5 separate regions of the Homo sapiens genome follow, and regions 1, 2, 4 and 5 are each linked to region 3. The links are contacts of gene promoters, found by promoter capture Hi-C in blood cells and fetal thymus (Javierre and others, 2016). All regions are on one chromosome and are shown on one strand. The core of a region is centred on a gene start or on the middle of the fragment in contact, and the rest is flanking DNA. Distances in the headings are between cores, read along the strand shown.

Evidence for each region. The method cuts DNA at HindIII sites, captures the fragments that hold promoters and counts their contacts. A CHiCAGO score of 5 or more calls a contact.
Region 1: a fragment that was not itself captured here is called in contact with the fragment with the promoter of OCIAD1-AS1 in region 3 in 14 of 17 cell types (naive CD4 T cells, erythroblasts, endothelial precursors and 11 more); the score reaches 8.3 in naive CD4 T cells.
Region 2: a fragment that was not itself captured here is called in contact with the fragment with the promoter of OCIAD1-AS1 in region 3 in 3 of 17 cell types (activated CD4 T cells, non-activated CD4 T cells and naive CD4 T cells); the score reaches 5.6 in activated CD4 T cells.
Region 4: a fragment that was not itself captured here is called in contact with the fragment with the promoter of OCIAD1-AS1 in region 3 in 2 of 17 cell types (naive CD4 T cells and total CD4 T cells); the score reaches 6.0 in naive CD4 T cells.
Region 5: a fragment that was not itself captured here is called in contact with the fragment with the promoter of OCIAD1-AS1 in region 3 in 4 of 17 cell types (naive CD4 T cells, activated CD4 T cells, M2 macrophages and 1 more); the score reaches 5.7 in naive CD4 T cells.

The regions. Positions count from the first base shown.
Region 1 is chr4:48,551,175-48,553,874 of GRCh38, reverse strand. It overlaps FRYL (FRY like transcription coactivator), which reads left to right. Exons shown (of 64, transcript NM_015030.2): 36 at 492-660; 37 at 2,297-2,381. Among named protein-coding and RNA genes, the nearest start is that of ZAR1, 62 kb to the right of the region's middle. The HindIII fragment of the contact is 1,202 bases long and covers 836-2,037 here.
Region 2 is chr4:48,592,146-48,594,845 of GRCh38, reverse strand. FRYL (FRY like transcription coactivator) reads left to right here. Exons shown (of 64, transcript NM_015030.2): 16 at 830-916. Among named protein-coding and RNA genes, the nearest start is that of ZAR1, 100 kb to the right of the region's middle. The HindIII fragment of the contact is 2,813 bases long and covers 1-2,700 here.
Region 3 is chr4:48,858,943-48,861,642 of GRCh38, reverse strand. OCIAD1-AS1 (OCIAD1 antisense RNA 1) reads left to right here and starts at 1,440. Exons shown (of 2, transcript NR_146806.1): 1 at 1,440-1,486. It overlaps OCIAD1 (OCIA domain containing 1), which reads right to left. Exons shown (of 9, transcript NM_017830.4): 9 at 1-918. The coding sequence ends at 881. The HindIII fragment of the contact is 4,141 bases long and covers 492-2,700 here.
Region 4 is chr4:48,525,104-48,527,803 of GRCh38, reverse strand. FRYL (FRY like transcription coactivator) reads left to right here. Exons shown (of 64, transcript NM_015030.2): 53 at 151-327. Among named protein-coding and RNA genes, the nearest start is that of ZAR1, 36 kb to the right of the region's middle. The HindIII fragment of the contact is 5,857 bases long and covers 1-2,700 here.
Region 5 is chr4:48,507,109-48,509,808 of GRCh38, reverse strand. All of the region lies in intron 59 of FRYL (FRY like transcription coactivator), which reads left to right. Among named protein-coding and RNA genes, the nearest start is that of ZAR1, 18 kb to the right of the region's middle. The HindIII fragment of the contact is 2,913 bases long and covers 1-2,700 here.

The DNA of each region.
Region 1 (2,700 bases), core at 187-2,686, 310 kb after region 3:
CAATGTAGTTGGAGTTCTAATTTAGTTCTAGTTCTTTGCTCTTAATGACTACTCTGGTTGACTATAGGGAATGGGGAAGGCGGAATAAAAGATAAACCCTGGGTTTGGAGGCTGGCTAACTAAAAATCAGAGGAAAATCTTAGGATGTTATTACCTGTGTTTCCATTAAAAGAGAAATTTTTACAGAAAAGTATTTTTTTGTTTTTTTTTTTTTTTTTTTTTAAAGTAAAGAAAGTGCATAAAGTGGAAACCACTAAACCGCTAAACATACTCAGTTCACCCTAATTAGATCTAATGCTGAGAGTTAGAGGGAGGACAGTATTGATAAAGCTGATTAATGTCTTATTGTTGATCAGTGCTAATTTTGATTTAGATTGTGTTTATTCATCTACCACTTAAAGTTGAACTTACTCTGATAAAGTTTGTCTCAGGAGAAATTAATGAGATAAAAACTTTGCTTTTTCTTTTCTGAACGATTTCTTTTGTGACAGGTGAAGAAGGTCATTGTATATTTAGGTAGAGATAAAACAATGCAGTTGCTAGAAGAGCTGGTGAGTGAGCTTCAGCTGACCGATCCTGTCAGTTCAGGGGTCACTCACATGGATAATCCCCCGTATTATCGCATCACTTCCAGCTATAAAATCCCTTCTGTCACCTCAGGTGAGAAATTTGTTAAAACCGATTGCTGTGTGAGATGATAGACATCTTCATCTGCTTCACTATGGTAACCATTTTAGGGTCTCTATGTCCCATAACATGTTATGAATCTCAGATATATACAATAAAATTTATTAAAAGAAAAAAACAAATCTTCCTCAGTATTGAAAGAGAAGCTTAACATAATTGTTAAACAAGAGTTTATTGTGTCTTTAAATGTATATATATATACACACCTATATGTATGTGCATATATTAAAATTATTGTAATATTTTGAGTATGAAGAAACTATGTTCCTAATAGAAGAACATCCAATGAAATTCAAAATAGTAAAAAGGCTATTGTAGATGAAATTTCTGTTAAACTCTTTGTTACTCAGTTTACTTTAAATGTTTTCAGCATGCTAATAACATTATCTGTAAAACTAGAAATATTTTAAATTATCTCTTTATAATTTATTTTTTACCATCCATTTTCATCACCTAGTCCTTTTGTTTTATTTTCCAGGAGATGTCTAATAATGCTTCTATTGAATTTTTCATATCGGCTAGAATGTTTTTAATTCTAAAGTTTCATTTAATTATAATTTTTTAAAGTAGCATCCTATTCATGTTTCATAGTTGGACTGTTGTTTCGTATCCAATACAGTTATAAAGTTTTCTCCCAGCAGAAGTCCTCATTTTCTCTACATTGCTGTTTTGTGTTGATAAAACTTTTCTCAAAAGCCTACCAATTCTAGATCTGTCTTTTCATAAAGAGTAGAATATTAAAAAAAATATAAGTTCTATAAGTATATATGGAACTTGTTGTCTGTGTGCTTTGTCGTACCATGATTTCAGTGATGCCAACGTCTGTAGGTCTTTTCTCCTAGATTTATCAGATTCCCTAGAGAAAACTCTTTCTAGTCATTTGCCTGCAGAGGGTGTGTCTGAACACACACACACACACACACACACACACACACACACACACCCCTTTGGACTGTTTATATTTATACACACACATATACACAGGCTTCAAACTTTCTGGAAGCCCAGTGGGGTAAGAAGGATGTTGGGGGGGGTGCAGTCTCAAATTTTAGCATGTGCATTTTCATTTAATGCCCCTGTTCTTTGTAAGGTGCCTCCTCTTTCAGGAGTACATGGCGTGCCCTAGTTCAGGAATCTTCTGATTTACTCTCATCAGAAAAGACTTCTAGAAGTGGGGAAAGACAGCCACCCAGCTGCAAGAGGCAAGAAAGTAGATTTGGGGAACCAGTTACTTCTAAAATAGATTGACTTTCAGCCAGGTTTCCTATTTTTTCGCACCACCTTCAACCCCTGTTTCCAGAGGTTCTCGATGCTACCTTTTGGAAGTTCAGCAATATAAACATGGAAGCTTCTTGGTTTTCACCCACCACCACCTTTGGATTCAGCCTTCTTAACACTTAATTACTTACTGTCCATTTGTATTCTAGCATCCAAAAATTTGTTTGTCTTATGTCCTTTCCCTTTTGGTCATTATGAGTACATTCCTTTTTTTAAATGACTTTGCTCTCATTTTAGTTAAGTTTTGATATCTATAATTTGAGATCTTTTGTTCTTATTGGGTTATTCCAGGTTTGTAGATTCACGAGTACTGCTTTGTCTTTGATTACAGGAACTACTTCCAGTAGCAATACAATGGTAGCTCCCACAGATGGCAATCCTGATAATAAGCCCATTAAAGAGAATATTGAAGAGAGGTAAGTACTTCTCTGTTCTGTATTAGCCTTTCAGTTTGACAGATACTGGTTGTCATCAGAATAAATGATATTTTCTGCATTGAAATGTGGATGTTGCTGTGTTAAAATTCGAGTGAAAAAAATATATTTCCATGCTGGAAACTTTCCACATTGAGAGTTTCAACATTAAAGATGCTAGCCTGCTAGATTTTTTTATATGCTCTAATGTATAAATAGGTGGTATATGGTAAGTCACTTTTTGTATTGCTTAAAGTTTTAGACCTATATAAATGGTATTTACTCCACCTGTTTTGTATGCCAGAATATTATTTTAGGTAGA
Region 2 (2,700 bases), core at 49-2,548, 270 kb after region 3:
TTTGGTCACATTTCCTTTTGGGACATCCATCTTGGAGAAACATAGGTAAGGTTATCTCGTCAACATGGGAAAATGCTGTGATTCCAGAATATTGATTGCATTCTCTTTCAACTGAAACTGTAACAATCTAGATGATCCATAATTCAATTATTTTTGACAGTGAAGAAATAAAGAATATTTAAATAGAATTAGTACATTGTTATTTACTAGAGTACAAAAGTAATGGTAATTCGATAAGTATAAGGGTATCAGTAAGATTAATAAAAGCAAATTGTGCTTTAGATCAAGTGTTCAAAAAACTTGTGACATTAGGTTGAATCTCTTCTTTTTTTCCAGAATTGTACCCACTCCCTTGAATTAGTTACCTTCCTCCAGCACTCCACCAGAATTATAAAACTCCTTTCAAACAGCAGTTAATCTAATTAGTTAACTTCCCCCCACCCCCCGGGAGATTTCCTTCCTAGAGCCCCATTCTTCCTGACCCAGTATGAACTCACTGCTGTCTAGGCCTGCTGCCTGGCTATTGTCTTGGGACTTCCTTTCATTGTCACCCTGGGAATTCTTTCACTTTGATTTTAATATGATTTTGGTGAATGAATGTTTAAAACTTTATTCTGTTGGTTTGGGTATTAAACAAATCATTTGATAATTAAATAATATACTTATAATCATGTATTTTGACCTTAATTCATATGTATTTTTCTTCTGTTCAGCTGTGAACTTTTTAAGGGCACAAACCTGTCTTGTTGTCATTGTATATTATATTTATAATTCTTAGCATGATACCTAACACATAGTAGCAAGTTATAAGGATTTTTTTTTTTTTAAGGAACGCTTGGATTTTGCAATGAAAGAAATAATATTTGATCTTCTCAGTGTTGGAAAATCTACTAAAACTTTCACCATTAATCCAGAGGTAAAAAAATTATAATGTAATAATATAAAATCCTAGATTTTTTTTTTAAGAGCATGATTTCTGGAATCAGAACTCTTAGGTTCAAATCCCAGCTCTACTTCTAATAGTAGCTGTGATCCAGGACAAGTTACTTAACCTTTCTAATAGCTGGCCGAATGGTTTAATAATAGTGTTTGTTTGTTTGTTTGTTTGAGACAGAGTTTTGCTCTTGTTGCCCAGGCTGGAGTGAAATAATGGTGTTTAAGCGTGGTAGAAAATAATAAATAGGCCGGGCACGGTGGCTCATGCCTGTAATCCCAGCACTTTGGGAGGCTGAGGCGGGCAGATCACCTGAGGCTGGCAGATCACCTGAGGCTGGCAGTTTGAGACCAGCCTGACCCCAACATGGAGAAACCCCATCTCTCCTAAAAATACAAAATTAGCCGGGAGTGGTGGCACATGCCTGTAATCCCAGCTACTAGGGAGGCTGAGGCAGGAGAATCGCTTGAACCTGGGAGGCAGAGGTTGCGGTGAGTCGAGATCAAGCCATTGCACTCCAGCCTGGGCAATAAGAGCGAAACTCTGTCTCAAAAAATGAATAAAGAAAGGAAAATTTTATCAGGTTAGTCAGCTCAGCTGGCTCCTGGAAGTTATAATGAGCCCAGGTTTTTTTTTTTTTGGTTGTTTTTTTTTTTACTTCACATTGTTTATATTTAAGGTGTTCTTCAATAAATCTCATTCATTCAACATTTATTGAGCACCTGAAATGTGCCAGGCACTGTTCTAGGTGTTATAGAAAAAACAAAAATTTGTTTCCCCCATGCCAAAAAAAATCAACATTAAAAAAGTGAATGTTATATCCTGCTTCCATGGTCTCATTATTCACTAGTAAACTCTAATTCATTCTTTAGACATTAGATTTTCAGGATTTTTCAAAATATTTCATAAATTAATTCTTTGTTGGAATCTAATTACATTTGAGGATATAAAAAGGCAAAATAGGTGTTATCTGTTTATTTTCTTATTTATTTTAAATTACTATCTTGATCCTATACATAGTCAAATCCTAAGGTATGTGTTTATGTGGTTAACAAATGAGTTGGAAAGATAATGCAGCTTTTCATTTGTAATATTTTTAAGATAGTTTAATAATTATTTCCAGATTTTGGAAGTGGGCAAACATGATTGTTTGTATAGCTGACATACTTAACTTGTTGGGGGTACATGTATCCCAGTGGGTGTAGAAGGTAGTTCACTGGAATACAGGAAAAAAATAAAGCTCTTATTTATATATTTTTTGGTTTCTACCGACAAAAATGGTTTCCAGCAACAAAAATTATGAAACAAAAGATATTTTCTTGAACATCCATTTTAAGAAAATATTCACTCTATTGAATAAATTTATTTCTGAAAGTAAGTTTTTTTCTTCCTGAAGTTCTCATACTAGGTATGAGTAAAAAAAATCAGTTCTGCTGGGTTTTTTTCTGTGGGGGAGGTGGTTGTTATTTATTAGGTTTACTTTGTTAGGATTATCTTGGATCTGTATTTTCTTTTCTTGGATCTGTATTTTCTTTTCAAGGACTTTTGTAAGAGCTCATGTAGTTAAAGCTAGATAAAATTATCCATTAGCCCATTTAATCAAATACATGCAAATTGCAATACACTGAAAGAATGTATAAGTGAAGCTACATTGTGGAGCTTTTCTGCGTCTTTCAAGGTGTCGTCTTTGACTATGTGACATGTGACTATCTGATACTTAGACTAAGGGAGGGCACCAGTACTATGTCGTATATAAAGAAGAGTGA
Region 3 (2,700 bases), core at 191-2,690:
GTGACCACAGCTCACTGCAACCCAGAACCACTGGGTTCAACTGATCCTCCCAACTCAGCCTCTTAAGTAACTAGGACTACAGGCACACGACACCATCGCCAGCTAATTTTTATTTTTTTGTAAAGACAGGGTCTCGCTTTGTTGCCCAGGCTGGTCTCAAACTCCTGGACTCATGCAATCCTCCCACTTCGGCCTCCCAAAGTGCTGGGATTACAGGCATGAACCACTGCCCACTGCCTCCAGCCATATTATAGATTTATAGCCATATTATAGCCATATTATAGAAATATTATAGATGACTTTATTTCCTATACCTACATGATTATAACTAGCTTAAAAATAAATCAATAAATTACAAACAATAAAACCATAAAATCAAGGAAGATGAGGGCTGTTGCATGTTCCTTTACATTTTATTTGCCATAAACATTAAGATAATACAGAAAATACTGGAGAAAAAAAGCTTTTTAATAATTTCTTGATGCAAAGCTTCACACTTAAAAATTATGCTTGCTCCCCCCATCCACCCCAATTCAACATGCAGATATCATTTATTTTCTTATATGCTGATTCTAGAGCATTGTAATCTCGACGGTTTTTTAAGAGTTATCTTTGCCCTTGCAACAATTTCACAAACTGTATACAATCATGGTATAATACCATCATTCAAATGAATCCCTAAGGTGAGTACATTTACACAATATTAACACTAAAAATCTGTGTTTTTTTAAAACACCATAGAAGTCAAACCACAAAAACCCAGGATCTTGTTTTAAATGTGTTTATGAAGACTGCTGCTGAGCTCAAAGCATGCAGGTAATCATGACCACCTAGATGAAGCTGGATGTTGAAACTCCTTCATGTCCAATGATGTAATTTTTCACTCATCCCAAGTATCTCCATACTTGTTTACTTTGACTAGGAAAAAAGCATAAATAATTGATGATTCCAAGCAATAATAAGTAAAAGACATTATTTTAAGTTTGTTGCTATGATGAAAAGTTATGTTTCTCTCTCATTTGAATAAAAGCACATGAGAGTCAAATTATAATTACAAAAAGGGGATGACCAGACTTTTGTGAACTTGGGGTTGGACAAATGCATTGTATCTAGAATTTTACATAAATAGTTAGTCCTCATAACAAACTTCTAAACACAATTCTCATTTTAATGGTGAGAAAAAAGATTAGTAACTTGCCCAAGGTACAAGCCCTAACAAGAACTGAGATTTGAGTATAGGTCTGTTTAGATCCAAAGCCTAGGTACCTTTACATCTTTACCATACTACCTAAGTGTGGCACATATTAAGCCATATACAAAAAAAAAAAAAAATAGTGGGAAATAATAAAACAAACATTTGAATTTTCGTTTTTCACAAAAAATACAGCAGTAGAAATGGTCAAGTGTTCAAGTTGTAATTAATTCAATCTTCTCTCTCAGGGCTGTAAATACTACTATAAGAAGAAAATACTACTACATTTTACAGGTACTCTATATTTTACATTTTAAAACATGCTCCGCTGTCTATTCTACTCCTTTACTTTTTTGCTTCTCTTCCACATAGCTTCTGTCTGTGAGTAATCATAACAATATAAAGCAGCAGTTATCACAGTGTGGACTCTTCAGGGAATACATGAAGTCAAAATTATTTCATTATTATACTAAGACATTATATATCCTTATGTTTCACATTTTGCCTTTTCCCCTTGCTCTCATTCCCTCATGAGTATATGTTACATGGTTTTCTAGAAGCTACAGGATGTGTGGTGACATTGCTCTGGCAGCTAATGGAATATGTGCTTGAATTTTTTAAATTTCTGGGTCTTAATTTCTAATTAGATAAATATCAACCACATAAGCTAAAGGTGAAAACTTTAAGTGACACTTTCTGACCATGTGAATCTACCCTGTACTAATTTCAACAATAATTCAGAAAATGACTGAAACTATTTCATAACAAGTCTTTTCTTTAAATTATATAAAGCACACAAAAAACCAGCTTTTCCCAAAAAAAGAAAAAATCATTTCACATTCTTGTGTCATGTAACAGAACTTGAAGACTTCAGTCAAAAATCAAAAATGTCAAAATCCAGCAAATGTTAAAGGTCTACCAAATTTCCTTTCTTAACCTCTATTACCATAGAAGCCTAAACCAAAATACTCAATTTCTGATACAGTGTAAAGTACTATGCTATGCAGACAATAATAGAAAAGATTACAAAAATGAGAAAAATATTACTTTCTGCCCTCACAGAGCTTACAATCTAAATCCTCAAATTAATTAGCAGGACAAAGTACCGACAAGTCTTTACATATTACAGAGCAATGGCCACTAGATGCAGTTTATGCTAAATGTTGTTTGATGACAAACATTCAAAAGTATGGTACATCCCTAATTCATTTCAAAGGTAGATTTTTTTTACATCAATAATATGATGCAGATATTATCTATCATTGTTATAAAAACAGAACTCCAAACGAAGCAACCGCTAATGATTAAAAATAAAATTAGCTCTAAAAAATGACCATAACAACAAATACTAAGGACTTTCATGTATTTTTGCATTCTTTGTGGCATATGACCTTCAAGAAGGTACCAAAGACCTATTATTTCCATTTTTAAAGTAGTAAATAGAAAATCTTGAAACAATGACACATACTCTGAAATTCCTTAAGAGAAAATCATAAAACCCTATACTG
Region 4 (2,700 bases), core at 1-2,500, 330 kb after region 3:
TGTGTTCAACTAGTTAAACATGAAGACCAAATTTAAGCTGTGAATTCATTGAAGAATGAGGCCTGCGGTGGCTTTGGGGTACTGATACCTCATACGCAGAGTGACAAATCTGATGGATGGACTTTTTTTTTTTTTTTAATCGGGCATCAGGTTGTATTTTCTTCTAATGAGGATTTGGAAGTCGGTGACCAACAGACTAGCCTAATTTCTACAACAGAAGACATAAATCAAGAGGAAGAAGTAGCTGTGGAAGATAATAGCAGTGAACAACAGTTTGGTGTTTTTAAGGATTTTGACTTTTTAGATGTTGAATTGGAAGATGCAGAGGTAAGGATGTGGGCTTTCTCTGTTAATATTTATAGAACAGTTGTATGAGAATTAAGGATTTGATCACAGGATCATTCCTTATTGAGGTCAGTGTAAGGTCAAAAAGGTAAAAATCTAAATTAGGAATTAAATTTGATTACCACAATTAGTCAATAGAATAAGTCTGAGATAAAAGAGAAACATTCCATTTTTCATCTTTATCTTTAAAAATATAAAATTAAAAAATGGCTTCCTTCAAAATTATTTTCAGGGTATGCTTAGACTTAAATGTTTTGCATGATTTGTCTTACAAACTAATATGCAGCCAAATGGTAAAAATTTATATGAGAATTGATTAAGGACAACTTTAAAGAGAGTTGCACTTACCACTAAATTGCACATTCATCAACTCTCATGTACATATACATATACTACTCATATACAGCTCATACACATTCATCAATTCTCATGTACATATACATATACTACTCATATACACACTTACCACTAAATTGACATATCACAAAGGGTTTGTCTTTCTAGAACTCTTCCCTTTGGCAAATGACTGAGCTTCTTTCTTTGACATTCGAAATCACTTTCTTCTTTATGATGTAGGTAACTCTCTCAAATGCCTGGTTTCATTTAATACTCAAAGCGTTTCTCTTCTAAATTGATTTAGTCTGGATTACATTATATTGGTAGTTATGTCAGTTGAGATGCTTTCTAAATGGAATTTAAAACTCAGAAAGTAGATTTATTAGCCCACAAAACTAGTCCAGAATTAGAGCTTATATTTAGATATGGCTCAATGAAGTTTCTGGCTGTTTATCTGCAGTTCTCTAGGCTCTCCCCTTCTCTGCCAGTCAGCTTGACCTCAGATAGCAGCAAAACCGTCTTCATTGCTGGGTAATCTTAGCCCCACACACAGCAGTGTTTGAAGGAGGTGAGGGTCACATCCAGAAATGCTCTCAGAAAAGTAAGGAAGCTGCTTTCCTAAATGGTCTTAGCAAACTTCTTGTAACATCTCATTGGCCCAAATTAGGACACATGCTACTTTCTGAAACAACCACTCTAGTGAATAGAATAGGATTACCCTGGTTGTCTTAGGCTATTAGAGATCCATTTCTGTAGCTGAGCTCAGTTCCCTAAACCACAGTCTCTTAACCCTGAAAGTTTATATCAAATAGATTTGTTTTAAACATGTACATTTTGAAATTGCTACAAATATCTGTATGCAAGAAGACCAAAATGCCTTAATACCAAGTATCTGTATACCATATCTTGATGTATCTTTTTCTAAAGAATCAAAACTCATAGCTCAAATACATTTAGCTCTCATATACATATACATATACTATTCATATACAGCTCATACACATTCATCAGCTCATATACATACACATATACAACTCATATACAGCTCATACACATTCATCAACTCTCATGTACATATACATGTACTACTAATATACAGCTCATACACATTCATCAGCTCTCATATACATACACATATACAACTCATATACAGCTCATACACATTCATCAACTCTCATGTACATATACATATACTACTCATATACAGCTCATACACATTCATCAACTCATGTACATATATACATATACTACTCATATACAGCTCATACACATTCATCAACTCTCATGTACATATACTACTCATATACAGCTCATACACATTCATCAGCTCTCGTATACATATACAACTCATACAGATCATACACATCCATCAACTCTCATGTACATATACATATACAACTCATATACAGCTCATACACATTCATCAGCTCTCGTATACATATACATATACAACTCATACAGATCATACACACTGATCAACTCTCATGTACATATACATATACAACTCATATACAGCTTATACACATTCATCAGCTCTTCTTGTAGGGGTGTTTCCTTTGGCTCTAATAGGTGAGGCGGAGGAATGAAATGTAATGCACTCTCCCGTATCACACTGTTCATTGTCCATGGAAGACCAGTTTGAGGAAGTAAAGTTCCCTCTCCTCAACATGCCTCAGTGCCCCCTGCAGATGTGAGGATGTGACCATGGTGCCTCCAAGTAATGCAAATGCCTTCATGTCAGTTTAGGAGCTGTGTAGGCTCCTATGGAATACTCCACCATTTACATTTTCCCAAAGACACAATTGTACAGGTTCATAGGAACTCAAGAACAGGTATTATTTAGCACCTTTCAGAGCAGTAGCTTTTAAACTTTTTTTTGACACTAATCCACAGTTAATACATTTTACATCACATCCAAGTGTGTGTATATATATATATATATATATATATATATATATACCTTTAAAAATAAAAGTTGCAAGAATATGCATCCAAACTCTATGCTGTGCATACTGATAT
Region 5 (2,700 bases), core at 186-2,685, 350 kb after region 3:
GCTGTCAACATTCCAAGTGGGGAAATTGAAGCAGTATTTCTCAGTGCATTAGAGAATTGTGGTCTAGGAAATCCACAACCTCTGACAAAGCTGTAATCTTTTTCCCATGATGTGTACATGTACATGGGCAAGCAGTGGGAGAAAAAAGCATGTAGTGAATTAGACAATTACCTCCTAAGAAAGGCTTCTTCAAGTCCAATCTGGCATTGAAAACAGAGTAGCTCTGTTCCTTCCCTAAGAGTAAATCCAGCACATTTTCAATTGGGAGGGACAGAAGAACAAAAAATAATTTCTCTCTTTCACACAAACTGCATACAGTAGGTAATTATTTTTCTAGATGGGTCTTTCATTAATAAGTAGTAAATATCTGTGACATGTATAGACCTATGAAAAATGAAGTGTGTGGTGGTATCTCATGGTACTATTTTGCATTTCCCTGATGACTAATATTTGAGCCCCTTTTCAAATGGATCTCTTCATTTAAGATATTTTGTGAATTGTAGCTTCAAGTACATTGCTCATTTTTGTAAATCGATTGGGTTTTTCTTACTGATTTGTAGGGGCTCTTTATCCTAAATGCAAGCCCTTTTTTGGATGTATGTATTGCGAAGATTATTCCTTCTCTGTAGCTAGCAGTTTTGCTATCTTAGTAGCATTTTTTGATGAACAGAAGTTTTTAATTTTAATAAGTCCAGGTTATCAGCCTTTTCCATCATGGTTATGGTTTTTGTATCTTCAGAAATCATTGCCTACTAGAAGCAAAGGTAGATTGTTAAAATACTGGTCCCAATGAATCATGCTTCTCTTGTCGCCACACCCCTTTGCAATGTGACTTTGCTGTTCTTCCCATGAAGAGACAGAGTCCATTTCACCATCTCTTAAATTTGGGATGGCCTTGTGATTTGCTCTAACCAATCAAGTTCAGAAGCAACGCTGTGTAACTTCCAAGACTAGTCCTGAAGTGGTCTTTTGTGGTGTCTGCTTTTGCCATCATACTGGTCGGAGTGCAAACTGGGGTAAACTCTGGGAAACTATTTGACCTCTAGCCTGCTGGAAGATGAGGCCATGTAGGGGAGAACAGAGGCGTTCCATTGACAGTCAGTGTGCAAGACATATGAGTGAAGCCAACTTGGAACTTCAACCCTGCCGCTTCCCCAGTCAAGCCATCAATGACTGTAGACTCATGAGTGACCCTAGGCAAGACCAGAAGAAACTCCCAGCCAGCACATAGATTCATTTTGGTTGTTTGAAGCCATTAAGTTTTAGGGTGGTTGGTTTTAAAGCAATAGATACCATTTATAATAGGAAAATATCAAATACCTACAAATAAATCTGTCTAAAGATATGCTGTACCTCTATACAGAAAACTGCAAATATTGAGAAAAATTAAAGACCACCTAAATGGAGGACTATATACCATGTTTATCAATTAGAAGACTCAATATGGTAAAGATGTCATTTTCCCCCAAAATGGTCTATAGGTTTAATGCAGTCTCATTCAAAATCTCAGATGGTATATTAATGGAAATTGACAAGCTGATTCTAAAATTTATATGGAAATTCAAACAACTAATAATGCTTACAAACTTCTTGAACACAGGTTAGCAAACTACAGCTGTCAAGTTATATCTGGCCCACTGCCTATTTTTGTAAATAAAATTAGTAGAAAACAGCTATCTGGTTTACTTACATATTGTCCATGGCTATGTTTGCACTGTAACAATTAAATAGTTACAAAGACTATATGTTTTGCAAAGCCTAAAATATTTACTGTCTGCCCTATTTAATTTTCCCATTCATTTTTGAGTTATACATTCTTTTTATTATTATTCAAGACTGCTAAGGCTCACAGGTGAATTGAATTATTTTTCTCTCCCCAGCAATGTGAGACCAGCGGTCTCTGCCGACCTTCTCAGTCTCCCAGGGGCTGCTGTGTGGTTTTGTAGCCTCTCCCCCTGCAGATAATAAACAGGAACAGCAAGTGTTCTAAGGCGAGACTGCACAGAGACTATTGGGGTCACTTCTCTGCAGTTCTCTTTTCTCCAGGATATTGGCCCTCAATATCTCACGATCTATCTATCTATCTATCTATCATCTATCTATCTTTGAAAACTGTTTTCCCAGCCCAGTGAAACTGTAGGGCATAAACTCTAGGCCACTGCTTTCTGTTCAGCCTCTATGCGCAGGGACGTGAATATGAATACACCTAGAGTAGAGTAAGCACTGGGGCGGGTATTGGGCTCACTCCGGTACTTTTCTCTAACTAACTAACTGTTTGTTTGAGTGAGTTTTGGCCGATAGGATTCAGCTTCCATCATTGTCCTTGCAGGATTGGTCTTTCTTTCTTTTATACAGGCTACTCCATCACACCCAGAAGTAGAACCTCGACAGTTAAAAATTTTAACCTTCATTTGAACCTTGAATAAAGAAAATGCCGTGACAGGAAGACTGATTGATTAGATGTGAACTGGAGGGTGTTCTGAGCACAAACTACCATGTCTTGTATGCTCTGGCTGGAAAGGTGTGGACCTGTATCTCTCAGGCCAGTGTGCAGCCACAGGACTATATGGTTGGGGTTTGTCTTTTAACAGAATAAAAATCAGCAATATTTTGAATAGTGCCCCCCAAAAGGCTGTATCATTAGGTACACAGTATAAAAATAAGCCATTAAATAAATAATCAACTGAAATTATTTTCAAA